Linked DNA regions of Homo sapiens: all the other regions are linked to region 3. The links are contacts of gene promoters, found by promoter capture Hi-C in blood cells and fetal thymus (Javierre and others, 2016). All regions are on one chromosome and are shown on one strand. Each heading gives the region's core, a stretch centred on a gene start or on the middle of the fragment in contact. The rest is flanking DNA. Distances are from core to core; before and after follow the strand shown.

Region 1 (4,223 bases), core at 884-3,383, 680 kb before region 3:
TGTCTCAAAAAAATAAAAATAAATAAATAAAACCACTTGGATGGGAATAGACATAAAACTTTAGGTAGGTGAATGTACAGGAAGTATTGTTATGTAAATTAATAATCAGCATTTTCATATTTCATAGAAATAGCAGGCAAGAGAGTACCTCTGGGTTTAGGTAGTTTCTGGGGAAAAAAAATGAACTGAGGAAAAGTTGCTGTCTCAATGCTAGCTGTCAAGAGATGCTTACTGGGTCCAGGCACCGTGGCTCATGCCTGTAATCCCAGTCCTTTGGCAGGCTGAGGAGGGCGGATTGCTTGGGCCCCCAGGAGTTAAGACCAGCCTAGGCAACAAAGCAAGACCCTGTCTCAGTTTAATTAAAAGAAATTTGATATCTTTATTAATTTTTTTTAAAGAGAAGCTTACTGGAAGAACTTGTGGGGAGTGCTTTTTGTGCCCCTAATCTGAAGTTATTTATCAAAACCAGTCTCTGATTCCAGCCCCCACCACCTACATTTCCCCTCCCAGCTTACAGGAAACCCCTCCCAAGGCCTTTATACTGTGGTTTGGGATTGTGTAAGGTTCAGTAGAGCCCTTTGAGGTGGAAGACTTCCCCTTCCTCACCAGCATTTCACCTTTAGGGGCATGAAACTGACTCTCTGTGCCTCCTCCATTCTTCACCCCAAGTACTATGTGACTTAATCTTTTTATCCTTGGGTGAGGCAGAGAGAAGGTATCCCTAAACATACAAGCACTGTGTATTCTTAGTATGTTGTGTGAAGGGGCAGGGTGTGGGGTAGGGCAGAGGAATTATCTCTGTCATGGCTATGAGGGGGTTACTGATGTGATGCCTATTAGAGTAAGCTAAAGATCATCATATTAATAACCATTAGCGTAGATTTAACATTTCTTTCTCCACCTCTTATCCTTCTTTCTCCTTTGTGCTCTCCCTTTCTCTCTGTCTTTCCTCCCTTCCCTGTCATGATCTGTTTCAGGGAAGCTGACTCCACCCATGTGTTCAATCCCACCAGTCTTCCCTCCCAAGTCTGGAAGCCCCACGACCTCTTGGTCTCATCTGGTCACAGCAAGTTAGAGGTGGAAAGAGCTCAGCACGGGGCCCTTCTGTTTACACATATACTGCCCATAGCCAGGAGTTACTGCACAAACACTAGCCAGCCTTCTACACTACATTCCTTTTCCAAGACTTTTCTGGGTTAGTTTGCTTTCCAGCCCACTGATTTCCTTCTTATTGGACAGGTCACTCTTTTGCATCCCAAGCCTGGCTTAGGCAAGTCCCTGAGGTTAGTAAACACCTTCAGTGCCCCTCAGCCAAGTCCCTTTTGACCATGGAATACCATCAGCCTGAGGATCCAGCCCCTGGTAAGGCCGGGACTGCAGAAGCAGTCATCCCTGAAAACCATGAGGTTCTGGCAGGCCCAGATGAGCACCCTCAGGACACAGATGCAAGAGATGCTGATGGGGAGGCTAGAGAACGGGAGCCAGCAGACCAAGCTTTGCTGCCTAGCCAGTGTGGGGACAACCTTGAGTCCCCTCTGCCTGAAGCTAGCTCAGCTCCACCGGGGCCAACCCTTGGGACACTGCCTGAAGTAGAGACAATAAGGGCATGCTCCATGCCCCAGGAGCTTCCTCAGTCCCCCAGGACCCGACAGCCTGAGCCAGATTTCTACTGTGTCAAGTGGATCCCTTGGAAAGGAGAACAGACACCCATCATCACCCAGAGCACTAACGGCCCTTGCCCTCTCCTTGCCATCATGAACATCCTCTTTCTTCAGTGGAAGGTAAGAGAACATGCAGTTAGGGGTGCAAAAAATATCAGGGAGTACTCTTCCCTGACTTACTTCCTTGATCATCCTGATGTCCTCAAACTAGTCAAAACTTTTCAGATTGTTCTCCCTATTTCTCCAGCTTGAGCAAATGAGATAAGATGTTCCTAAAAACAAAGAAAAAAAAAAAAGAGGAAGATCTGTCCTACCCCTGTATCTCCTACTCCCTAGCAAATGCACATGCCTTGCAAGATTTCACATTCATTCCCTTGTGCCAGTTGCAAGCCTTTTTTCCTACCCCACCCTACTACTGGAGCTCCCCCTTGCCTTTCCATGGGTTCTTCCTTCAGTGCTCTTTGGAGGAAAGCACACACGTGATCACCCCTTCTGCCTCCAGGTGAAGCTCCCCCCGCAGAAGGAAGTGATCACATCGGATGAGCTCATGGCCCATCTTGGTGAGTGACTGGGCGTTGAAGAGGAATTACCCAAGGGGCTCCAGAGCTATCCACTCAGCCAGAAATCCAGACTATTCAGGGATCTCCATTTGGGGGTTCTGATACAGCAGGGAGGGTAAGGGTCTATGGGGCTTCTCTGCAAGGCTGGAGAATGAAAAGCAAAGGCGTCGGGAGTCCTGGGTTGTAACACCAATTCTGCCCTTAGCTTTTGTATCTGACCCTGGGTGGGCCGTTCACCTTTATGAGGCTGTCGCCTCCTCTGAGAAATGAAGAGTCTGGATTAGACTCTAAGTATTTTCCAGCTCTGAAAATCTGTGTTCTGTGACATTACCCGCATTCTCCAGGAGAAGAGGAAACTTAGCTTTTGGGATGATTGGTGGGGTAAGCTGATAAGGGGCCCTGTCTTGTAGGAAACTGCCTCCTGTCCATCAAGCCCCAGGAGAAGTCAGAGGGACTTCAGCTTAATTTTCAGCAGGTGAGGCAAAAGGTCTGCAGGCATAGGGGTTTGCAGGTTTGTAAGGGGACATCTTGTAATACTAAGATAAGCTTTTGTTGCTTCTTCAGAGGTTTCCTTGAACCATGATTTCATTCTGCAGGAGTCAGAGGAGAGTTTATCTTTGTCCTAGAAAATATGTTCATTGGCCGGGTGCTCACACCTGTAATCCCAGCACTTTGAGATGCCAAAGCGGGAGGATCACTTGAGGCCAGGAGTTCGAGGCCAGCCTGGGCAACATAATAATACCCCTGTCTCTAAAAAAAACCATTTTTTTTTTCAAGAATTAGCCAGGTATGGCGGTGCGTGCCTGTAGTCCCAGCTACTCAGGAGGCTGAGGTGGGAGGGTCACTTGAAACCAAGAGTTTGAGGCTGCAGTGAGCTAGGATCACACCACTGCACTCCAGCCTGGATGAAAGAATTAGACTTAGACTCTCAAAGAAAAACAATGTTCATTTATATAAGATAGAGAAGGGTTGAGGCAAGGGAGAAATGGAGTGGCTTGTAAGAGAATCAGGGAAGAAGAGCAGCAAGGTTAATTTTTAATTTCTGCAGGTGGGAGTGGAGTGGTGGGAGAGAAGGCTAGAATCTCCATCATTTTTTTTTCTACCCCCAGAATGTGGATGATGCAATGACAGTGCTGCCTAAACTGGCCACAGGTCTGGATGTCAATGTGCGATTCACAGGCGTCTCTGATTTTGAGTATACACCCGAGTGCAGTGTCTTTGACCTGCTAGGCATACCTCTGTACCATGGCTGGCTTGTTGATCCACAGGTGAGGGTGGGAGGGCCCACTGGGACCTTATCCAGCTCAAGCTGACATGAGAGAGGCAAATTTTTGTCGGGTAGAGGTTAGGGAGTTAGGGGTTAGATTGGCTTGGGAGGGAAATAGTGTTTAGAGACTGGACCCAGTACAGAATTCCTTGAATTTTAATCTATTTTGGGGGTAACATGCAAATACAAGCAAACTACATGCAAATAGGTCAGTTCTTTAGACATCAAAAATTCAGGAAGCAGATGGGTTTGGTGGCACATGCCTGTATTCCCAGCTACTTGGGAGGAGTTCGAGGCCAGTCTGGGCAACATAGCAACCCTATGATGAATGGTTCCTGAAATTTTTTTCTTTTTTGAGAGACCAAAAAAAAAAAGTGTTTAGGAACCATTCATCACAGGGTTGTAGTCCTTGTGAGCTTTGTTCATTTCCTTCCTTAAAAAAGAAAAAAAAATCCCAATTTTTTTGGTATCCCACATCCCACTACCCAAGCAGAGTCCTGAGGCTGTGCGTGCAGTTGGGAAACTGAGTTACAACCAGCTGGTGGAGAGGATCATCACCTGCAAACACTCCAGTGACACCAACCTCGTGACAGAAGGTGACATTCCTCCCCTTCTCATGGATAGTATGTGGAGGGAATGACAGCTACTTAGGCTTATTTTTTATTGGGTGTCATCTCCTACCACATCCCACTAGATATAAGCTTCACAAGAAGGAGCTTGGGGAATTTCTGTTTA
Region 2 (4,700 bases), core at 53-2,552, 570 kb before region 3:
AGAATCCTACTTCTGTTTTAAATAACTAGAAAGTTTCTATTCCCTGCAAATAAATCCTGATTGACACAAATACCAAGCTGAGTTTTTCCCAGAAATGCAAGGGTAGTTTACATGAGAAAACCTGTAAGTGACATTTAATATATAGATTAAATGAAAAAATTACCTCAATGATTACAGAAAAAGCATTTGATAAAACTTAATACTAGCCAAGACAGGAGGATTGCCTGAGTCCAGGAGTTCGAGACCAGCCTGAGCAACATAGTGAGACGCCCCCATCTCTGGTTAAAAAAAAAGAAAAAAAAGATACTAATATAAAACACCTATGTTAATATTCTTAGCAAAATAGGGATAGAAAGGAGCTCCTTTAACCCATTTATGCCTGAGGGTGCAATTTTTTGAATTTTTGCAATCAGACCTTGGTGATGACCTTGAGCAGTAGGACATAAATAACCCCCACATGCTTAGGGTTCCAATAATGGAACACTAGGCATAAGTGGGGGTATCCATAAAAAATGTATAGGCTGGGTATGGTGGCTCATACCTGTAATCCCAGCATTTTGGGAGGCTGAGGCAGCAGGATTGCTTGAGGCTAGGAGTTTGAGACCAGCCGGGGCAACATAGTGAGACCCGTCTCTCTAAAAAAATTTAAAAATTAGCCAGGCAAGATGGTGCATGTCTGTACTTCCAGCTACTCAGGAGGCTGAAGTGGGATGATCACTTGAAGCCCGGAGATCAAGGCCATAGTGAACCATGATAGCATCACTGTCTTCCAGCCTGGGTGACAGAGTGACAGCCTGTCCAAACAACAACAAAAAAAACTATAGCAAACCTACTACTTAATGGGCAACAGTTGAAAGATTTTCCTTTTAAAATCAGGAACCAGACAAAAATGTTCACTATATTAACTTTTATGTAACATAATTCTGGAAGTCCTAGCCAGTGCAGTAAGATAAGATGAAAAAAAATGGATTGAAAAAGAAGAAAACAAAAGTTTACTATTCACAGACGTCATTGCCCGCAGATGAGTCTAAAGAAAAATGTGAGATAATTAGAGCTTAGCAAGGTGGCTGGATAAGATACATAAGTCAATTATATTTCTAAATACCAGCAACACACAAGAAAATGTAATTTTTAAAAAAGCATCATTTACAATGGCATTAAAAATACGTAAGATATTTAAAAATAAGTTTAACAAAAGTTGACTAGGACCAGTTTGGAAACAATTACCAAACTTTACTGATAGTCGTTAAAGAACACTTAAGTAAATGAAGGGATATACTATGTTTGTGGATTCAGCATAGTAGTTAGTTCTTCCCAGATTGATCTATGGATACAATGCAACTCCACCAAAATCCCATCAGGATTTTTTGAGAAAACTGACAAATCAATTTTCTTAAACGTATGAAGGAACTCAAAGGCTCAAGGATAGAGAAGATAGAAGCCAGGCATGGTGGCTCATGCCCGTAGTCCTAGCACTTTGGGAGGTTGAGGCTGACAGATCTCCTGAGGTCAGGAGTTCAAGACCAGCCTGAGCAACATGGTAAAACCCCATCTCTACAAAAACTACAAAAATTAGCTGGGCCTGGTGGTGGGCACCTGTAGTCCCAGCTACTTGGGAGGCTGCGGTGGGAGGATCTCTTAAGCCAGGGAGGTTCAGGCTGCAGTGAGCCGAGTTCATTTCATACCACTGCAATCCAGGCTGGATGATAAAGCGAGGCCCTGTCTCAATAAAAAAAAAAAAAAAAAAAAGAAGAAGAAGAATAAGACATTCTGAAGAAAAAGAATAGGGTAGAGAGATTTTCCTTATCAGCAATCAAGGTTTATTATAAAGCTATAGGGTTTATGACAACGGGGTAGGTATGTGGGCATAGATACCCCTAGAGAGCCCAGAGGCAAATCACACATTTACAGAAACTTGAATTATAACACAGTGGGTATTGTTGGTCACAGGAAAAGCATGAACTATTCAATAAGATACTGGAAAATAGGATATTTATTTTAAAAATTGCATTTAGTTATATGTAAAAGGAAAACTTGAAAACCTTTAGAAGAAAATATGACATATCTTTATGACTTCAGGCACATATTTTCTCATTATTCATCATTACATTCCTCAAAAAGGACATCTTGTTTTACCCTGGCACTTGCAGATCTCACTAGACTTATTCAGCCTGAATATTTTATTAATTTTCCACCTTCTCTCAATTAGTGCATTTCAAGAGACTTCCATCTTTCTTTGATTTCCTTTCATTTATTCTCCTTATCACAAATTTCTAGTATAATTTTATACTAAGTAAACTGTCTGAATCTTATAAAGTTAAAGAGAAAAATAAAAAAATCTGTACTTCCTGAAAGCAAATAATTCCAAAGCAATTTGCTGGGTAAAGTGGGAAAGAAGCCCAAAGGGAAGAATCAAGGGAGATTTTACTGAAGAGGCCAACACATGAATTGAATTGAGGGCTAAGAATGAGTTTATCTGGCAGCTAAAAGTGGGAAAGGGGAGAAGGAAAGAAGATATTCCAGGTAAAGATATGAAGGTTTAAGGGAGGACAATATAGTATGTTTGAGAAACAGCAATTGTTCAGTAAGACTTTGAGATATATTTTACTGAATAGATAGGATTGGTAGCAAAGGCAGCTCACAAGGGACCTTGTGTTGCAGATTAAACACTCAGGACTCAGCTTTGTAATCAGTGGGGAGCCATTGGAAAGCTTGTAAACATGAAAATTACATCATTAGATGTTTGTGTTAGAAATATCAGATAAGGCCGGGTGCAGTGGCTCACGCCTGTAATCCCAGCACTTTGGGAGGCCGAGGCAGGCAGATCACGAGGTCAGGAGATGGAGACCATCCTGGCTAACACAGTGAAACCCTGTCTCTACTAAAAATATGAAAAATTAGCCAGGCATGGTGGCGGGTGCCTGTAGTCCTAGCTACTCGGGAGGCTGAGGCAGGAGAATGGTGTGAACCCAAGAGGCGGAGGTTGTAGTGAGCTGAGATCTGCCACTGCACTCCAGCCTGGGCGACAGAGCGAGACTCCGTCTCACAAAAAAAGAAAAAAAAAAAGAAAGAAAAGAAATATCAGATAGGCAGGAATGTGTAGCGTACATGAGGCAAGAATTAACCTGATATTCTTCTATCAATATGAGTTTCTACAGGGCAAACGTCCATTTCCTGTAGGAAATGTTTGTCAATGTGGAAACTCCAATGTCAGAAGGAACATGCTGCTTCTCTTGGGTGTAGGGTATGAACAGTACAACCTTCATCGATTAATAAACTCAGCTGGGAGTGGTATTAGTTATAGAAGTCTTTGTAGAGGTGATGGCTGAGCTCTATTTGGAACAAGAAAAGAGCACTCCAAATAAAGGAATAGTGATGGAGACAGGAAGCATTGAAGCTTTCTGGAAAATGATGCTTAATTTAATATTGCAGAACTCACAATGCATGAAAGTGAAGGGTATAAAATTTCACATTGGGCCAGGCGCGGTGGCTCTCGTCTGTAATCCCAGCACTTTGGGGTGCCGAGGCGGGTGGATCACCTGAGGTTGGGAGTTCAAGACCAGTCTAACCAACATGGAGAAACCCCGTCTCTACTAAAAATACAAAATTAGCCAGGCGTGGTGGCACATGCCTGTAATGTCAGCCACTTGGGAGGCTGAGGCAGGATAATCGCTTGAACCCGGGAGGCAGAGGTTGCAGTGAGACAAGAACGTACCGTTGCACTCCAGCCTGTGCAACAAGAGCAAAATTCCATCTCAATAAATAAATAAATAAATAAATAAAATCTCACATTGGAAGGAAACTTTAAAGGTCATCTTGTACCACCTTCTAATCATTCCTGTAAAGCCCCTGCTTGAGCTCCTTGTGTGACAGGGGCTGGGCACTGACTGTCTCCTGGCTGTCTATCTATTTCAGAAGGTTCTGGAAGGCAGTAATTTTTTACCTTGAGCCAAATCTGTCTTCTTAGTACAGCTTCACTTTTTACTTAGGACTGTTTAAGGCAACACATATCTTTTCCATACACAAGAGTTTCAGTAATTTAAAAATAGCTATTAAGTACGTTTGATTGGTTTCTCAGAGGATGTGGTCTACCACTCTACCCTTTTTCTACTGAAGATTTTCTAGTGTGTCTATATTCCTTTTAAAATGTGGTGCCCAATACAGAATACAAGATGCATGCAAACTCAAGATTATTCATCTAGATACTATACTTCTGTTGCTTAAGACAGGACCATACTGAACCTTGAAAGTCAGGGCAAGGACTTTGAATTTTGTTCTTTCAGGTATCGGGAAGCAATGGAAGGTTTTGAGCAGATAAACATTTTGGGAGCAGGGGCCATATCTTACTGTGTATCCCATTGATTCTAACTAGAATGTAAGCTCTAGGTGTCTGTCCCATTCATAGCATGGATTCAGTGCCTGGGGAGGGCTGGCATATTTTATGTATTTAATACGTCTACATGAATGAATTAATATGAATCTCTATCGGTGTCTGGCACATAGTGCATACAACAGTTCATACTTGTTGAATTCAGGCAGGTAAATGATCAAAGCCATACTTCAGGAAGATAACTGGCAAGAGTGCGTAAAAAGTATTGGAGCTAACACACACTATAGGGTGAAAACAACAAGAGGAGTTTTAGCAGTCTCAACAAGGGGAAACAAGGGCTAGGATAACACAGTGAGTAACAGAAAGGAAA
Region 3 (4,149 bases), core at 942-3,441:
CAGGTAATTATCATGTTCAATCTACAGGGTCTCCATCAGCTGACTTGATGATCCTTCAGCTCAGAAAAGAATACCCTCATTTTTATTTTGAGACAGAGTCTCACTCCGTCGCCCAGGCTGGAGTGCAGTGGCGTAATCTTGGTTCACTGCAACCTCCATCTCCTGGGTTCACTTGATTCTCCTGCCTCAGCCTCCCAAGTAGCTGGGACTACAGGCATGCACCACCACGCCTGGCCAATTTCGTAGTTTTAATAAAGACACGGTTTCACCATATCGGCCAGGTAATGCCTTACCTCAAGTGATCTGCCCACCTTGACCTCCGAAAGTTCTGGGATTACAGGCGTGACCCACTGCACCTGTCTCTACTAAAAATACAAAAATTAGCCAGGTGAGGTGGTGGGCACCTGTAATCCCAGCTACTTATGAGGCAGAGGCAGGAAAATCACTTGAACCCAGGAGGCGGAGGTTGCGGTGAGCCAAAATCATGTGCACTCCAGCCTGAGCGACAGAGTGAAACTGTGTCTCCAAAAAAAAAAAAAAAAAAAAAAAAGCCAGGTGCGGTGGCTCACGCCTGTAATCCCAACACTTTGGGAGGCCAAGGCGGGTGGATTATCTGACGTCAGGAGTTCGAGACCAGCCTGGCCAACATGGTGAAACCGCATCCCTATTAAAAATACAAATATTAGCTGGGCGTGGTGACCTGCACCTGTAATCCCAGCTACTCTGGAGGCTGAGACAGGAGAATCCCTTGAACATGGAAGGCGGAGGTTGCAGTGAGCCGAGATCGCACCACTGCACTCCAGCCTGGGCGACAGAGCAAGACTCCGTCCCGGGGAAAAAAAAAAAAGGTGTCTAAATGGGAGTCAATAAATTGACTGACCTCAATTTCCAAGCTCAGCTATTCCCAGCAGTGCCACTTATCAAAGATCTGGGAATCATCTTTCAAGATGTTTTAAGACATCTTTTCTCCAAAAAATCCAGTCTGATTAACTTCTACATTCTTGGTAAGTTTAGCCTCTATACTAGAGTCTATAAGACTTGATGCCAAATAGACTCACTTTTGGTATATCCAAAGGAAGCTAGTAGATTGAAGTGATGAAACTAAGACTGAAAGATTTTCTGCCTCAGTGACAAGTTACGTGAGTAATTCTATGGTGGTTCTATTACCCCACAATGAGTAGACATACAGCGTACCAATTTCTACATATTACACATGTATTGCACAAAAGCGGCATATCCAGATGCCATAGAAAGTGAAAACAAGAGTTCACACAGAAACAGTTGGGACACTGAGCCCCACCATTTACAAGCCCTTGGGCAAGTTAAGTAATTCTTTGGAGCCACAGTTTACCATCTTACAAAATGAGTACTGCCATATTTACATCCTAATTCATTCAATAAATATTTATTGAGTAACTACTAAGTGTCAAGCAATGTACTAGGTGCGGTGGATACATAAAACAGTGAGCAAAACTAACAAGAGTCCTCACCTTAACGGGTCTTATATTCCACTAGAATTGAATGATAGGCTAGAAAGTATAAGCAATTTGAAAGCCCAAAGCAATAAATGAGGTGCCACTGTTACCTCCATAAGATGACGTGCAAACTAAACAGCCAATGGATAAAAAAGTTTCAAACGGTAATTAGCCTTGTCACTAATCAAATGCTCAACAATAACTGCGAGGTGCGGGGGTAGTGGGGGTGCGGAAGGAAAGCGAGGTACAATGATCTCTCCTCTCAATGAGCAGGCAGCAGAATCCAAATCCAGTCTTCAGAAGGAATTCCTTACTCCGTGCTCTTGTTTGCTACAACCTGAGTTTCCCTCTGCAGCCCCCCACTCCCCCGCTAATCTTCATTTTTACTCTCTCCGTCACTCCAACCAGTCTCTTACTCTACCTTGTTCTACCTAAACTCCTCACCCCAGAGCTGGTCTCCCAACCCGGTCTCCTTCCCGCCCCCGCCCTTTTCCTCTCAACAATCTCATTCCAACCTCTTCTCCCACCAAACCAGGTACTCCTTTCACACTCCTTCCCGCTGAACCCTCCCGCTTCGGTCCTCCCCTTGGACTGAGTCCCCGGCCACAGTGGCGCGGACTGGAATTACCCTCTGTGGGCCCGGGGCCACTACTCACCTCACAAACTTCAGCCCCTGAGACGGAGCCCGAACGTTACACCGGAACCGGAAACCTTCTGACCGCCCTACGGCGTGCCGTCGCTACCGCCACCGCCGCCGCCACGCCGCTGTCTCCCAACACGTGACCAAGGAGGGCCGGGCCGCCAATTCGCGCAGCCGTATTTGCCACTTTCTTGGAGGCTGAACGCATGCGTCGCAGAACCGAAAAGTTTCCCTGAGCAATTTCCTTGCTTTCTATTTCCCAGGCTAAACCTATTAGCTAGATTTCTGCCAAGGTTTTTTTTTTAGCTTTTTTTTTGAGACGGAGTCTCGCTCTGTCGCCCAGGTTGGAGTGCAGTGACGCGATCTCGGCTCACTGCGAGCTCCGCCTCCCGGGTTCACGCCATTCTCCTGCCTCAGCCTCCCGAGTAGCTGGGACTACAGGCGCCCGCCACCACGCCCGGCTGATTTTTTGTATTTTTAGTAGAGCCGGGGTTTCACCGTGTTAGCCAGGATGGTCTCGATCTCCTGGCCTCGTGATCCGCCCGCCTCAGCCTTCCAAAGTGCTGGGATTACAGGCGTGAGCCACCGCGCCCGGCCGATTTCTGCCAAGTTAATGTCTTTAACTTCCTGAAGCGGAAATTGGGCTACTTGCTGTTTTCCTCATATGGAGAATAAGTGCGCAAAAGTAAACTTAGGCTAGAATGAAGAGCGAGGCTTCTGCGTTTGTGTTCAAACACAGCCTTTCTGGTAGAAAGTAAACCCTTTCTCCCTAATTTAACAGTGGTGTCAGGCCGGGCGCCGTGGCTCACGCCTGTAATCCCAGCACTTTGGGCTCAATAAATGACAAGTGAGACCTACCAGTATTGTTTTCTCCATTCTATCAATAGGTCTATATATTAACTTCTCTCCAAAATGAGGCTCTAACCTACTGACCCTTTATTTTTTATTTTTATTTTTTATTTTTTGAGACGGAGTCTCGCTCTGTCGTCAGGCTGGAGTGCATTCGGCTCACTGAAACTTCCGCCTCCCGAGTAGATGGGACTACAGGCGCGCGACCACCACGTCCAGCTAACTTTTGTATTTTTAGTAGAGACGGGGTTTCACCATGTTGGCCAGGATGGTCTCCATCTCTTGACCGCGTGATCCGCCCACCTCGGCCTCCCAAAGTGCTGGGATTACAGGGTTGAACCACCGCGCCCGGCCCCTACTGACTCTTTAAATCGATGATTCATAACAACATGTGTGTGGACAAAGATAGTTTGGAAAAAGATTGTCCAGTATTATGACACAATTTCTTATATGAGAAATGGAAAAAATTCCATTATTTTTATATTATAAACTATCCAAACTAAAGTTCCAAAATGTCTTCTTGGTGGTAGGCTGACTAGAAGATGCAGTTGTTCTTCAGGGAGGTTATTCACATTCCCCAGATAGTAGGAGATTTTTGTATCTAAAGATAACAATGTACATACCAAGCCCCACCTTCCCTGATGGGGCAGCACGACATAACAGGATAAAGCCTGGCTCTGAAGGAACAAGTTGGGGGAGTTTGAACCTACTGCTCAACTTATTCACAAATCAGTTTCCCCACCTACAGCTTCTAACACCAATGTCTCACAAAATATTCACTCAAAAAGTCTGTTGAATGGGTTAATGAGTTTCAACATTGCAGGGTTGTTGTAAATTTATTTTGTTTTGGTGCTTCTAACAGTCTGCGTTCAATTCCCTATGGAGAAATGTGTTTCTAGAAACTGGTTTTAGGCCAGGTGTGGTGGCTTACGCCTGTAATCCCAACACTTTGGGAGGTCGAGGCGGGTGGATCACTTGAGGTCAGGAGTTTGAGACCAGTCTGCCGACATGGTGAAACCCCATCCCTACTAAAAAAAATGCAAAAATTAGCTGGGTGTGGTGGTGGGCACCTGTAATCCCAGCTACTCAGGAGGCCGAGGCAGGAGAATTGCTTGAACCCGGGAGGTGGAGGTTGCAGTGAGCCAAGATCGCGCCACTGCACTGCAGCCTGGGCGACAGAGGGAG

What was found. The method cuts DNA at HindIII sites, captures the fragments that hold promoters and counts their contacts. A CHiCAGO score of 5 or more calls a contact.
Region 1: a fragment that was not itself captured here is called in contact with the fragment with the promoter of PRPF3 in region 3 in 1 of 17 cell types (fetal thymus); the score reaches 5.3 in fetal thymus.
Region 2: a contact is called between a fragment that was not itself captured here and the fragment with the promoter of PRPF3 in region 3, in 1 of 17 cell types (neutrophils). The highest score is 6.6, in neutrophils.

The regions. Positions count from the first base shown.
Region 1 is chr1:150,999,723-151,003,945 of GRCh38, reverse strand. It overlaps MINDY1 (MINDY lysine 48 deubiquitinase 1), which reads left to right. Exons shown (of 10, transcript NM_001376665.1): 2 at 1,240-1,781; 3 at 2,164-2,221; 4 at 2,632-2,696; 5 at 3,331-3,489; 6 at 3,982-4,084. The coding sequence starts at 1,329. Among named protein-coding and RNA genes, the nearest start is that of MINDY1, 5.1 kb to the left of the region's middle. The HindIII fragment of the contact is 1,273 bases long and covers 1,497-2,769 here.
Region 2 is chr1:150,889,578-150,894,277 of GRCh38, reverse strand. All of the region lies in intron 1 of CTXND2 (cortexin domain containing 2), which reads right to left. It also overlaps a transcript of LOC107985204 not described here. Among named protein-coding and RNA genes, the nearest start is that of CTXND2, 4.8 kb to the right of the region's middle. RefSeq lists cis regulatory regions at 1,762, 2,641 and enhancers at 1,690-1,834, 2,569-2,713. The HindIII fragment of the contact is 2,823 bases long and covers 1-2,713 here.
Region 3 is chr1:150,319,575-150,323,723 of GRCh38, reverse strand. PRPF3 (pre-mRNA processing factor 3) reads right to left here and starts at 2,191. Exons shown (of 16, transcript NM_004698.4): 1 at 2,132-2,191. RefSeq lists enhancers at 2,093-2,142, 2,333-2,382, 2,512-3,077. The HindIII fragment of the contact is 20,070 bases long and covers 1-4,149 here.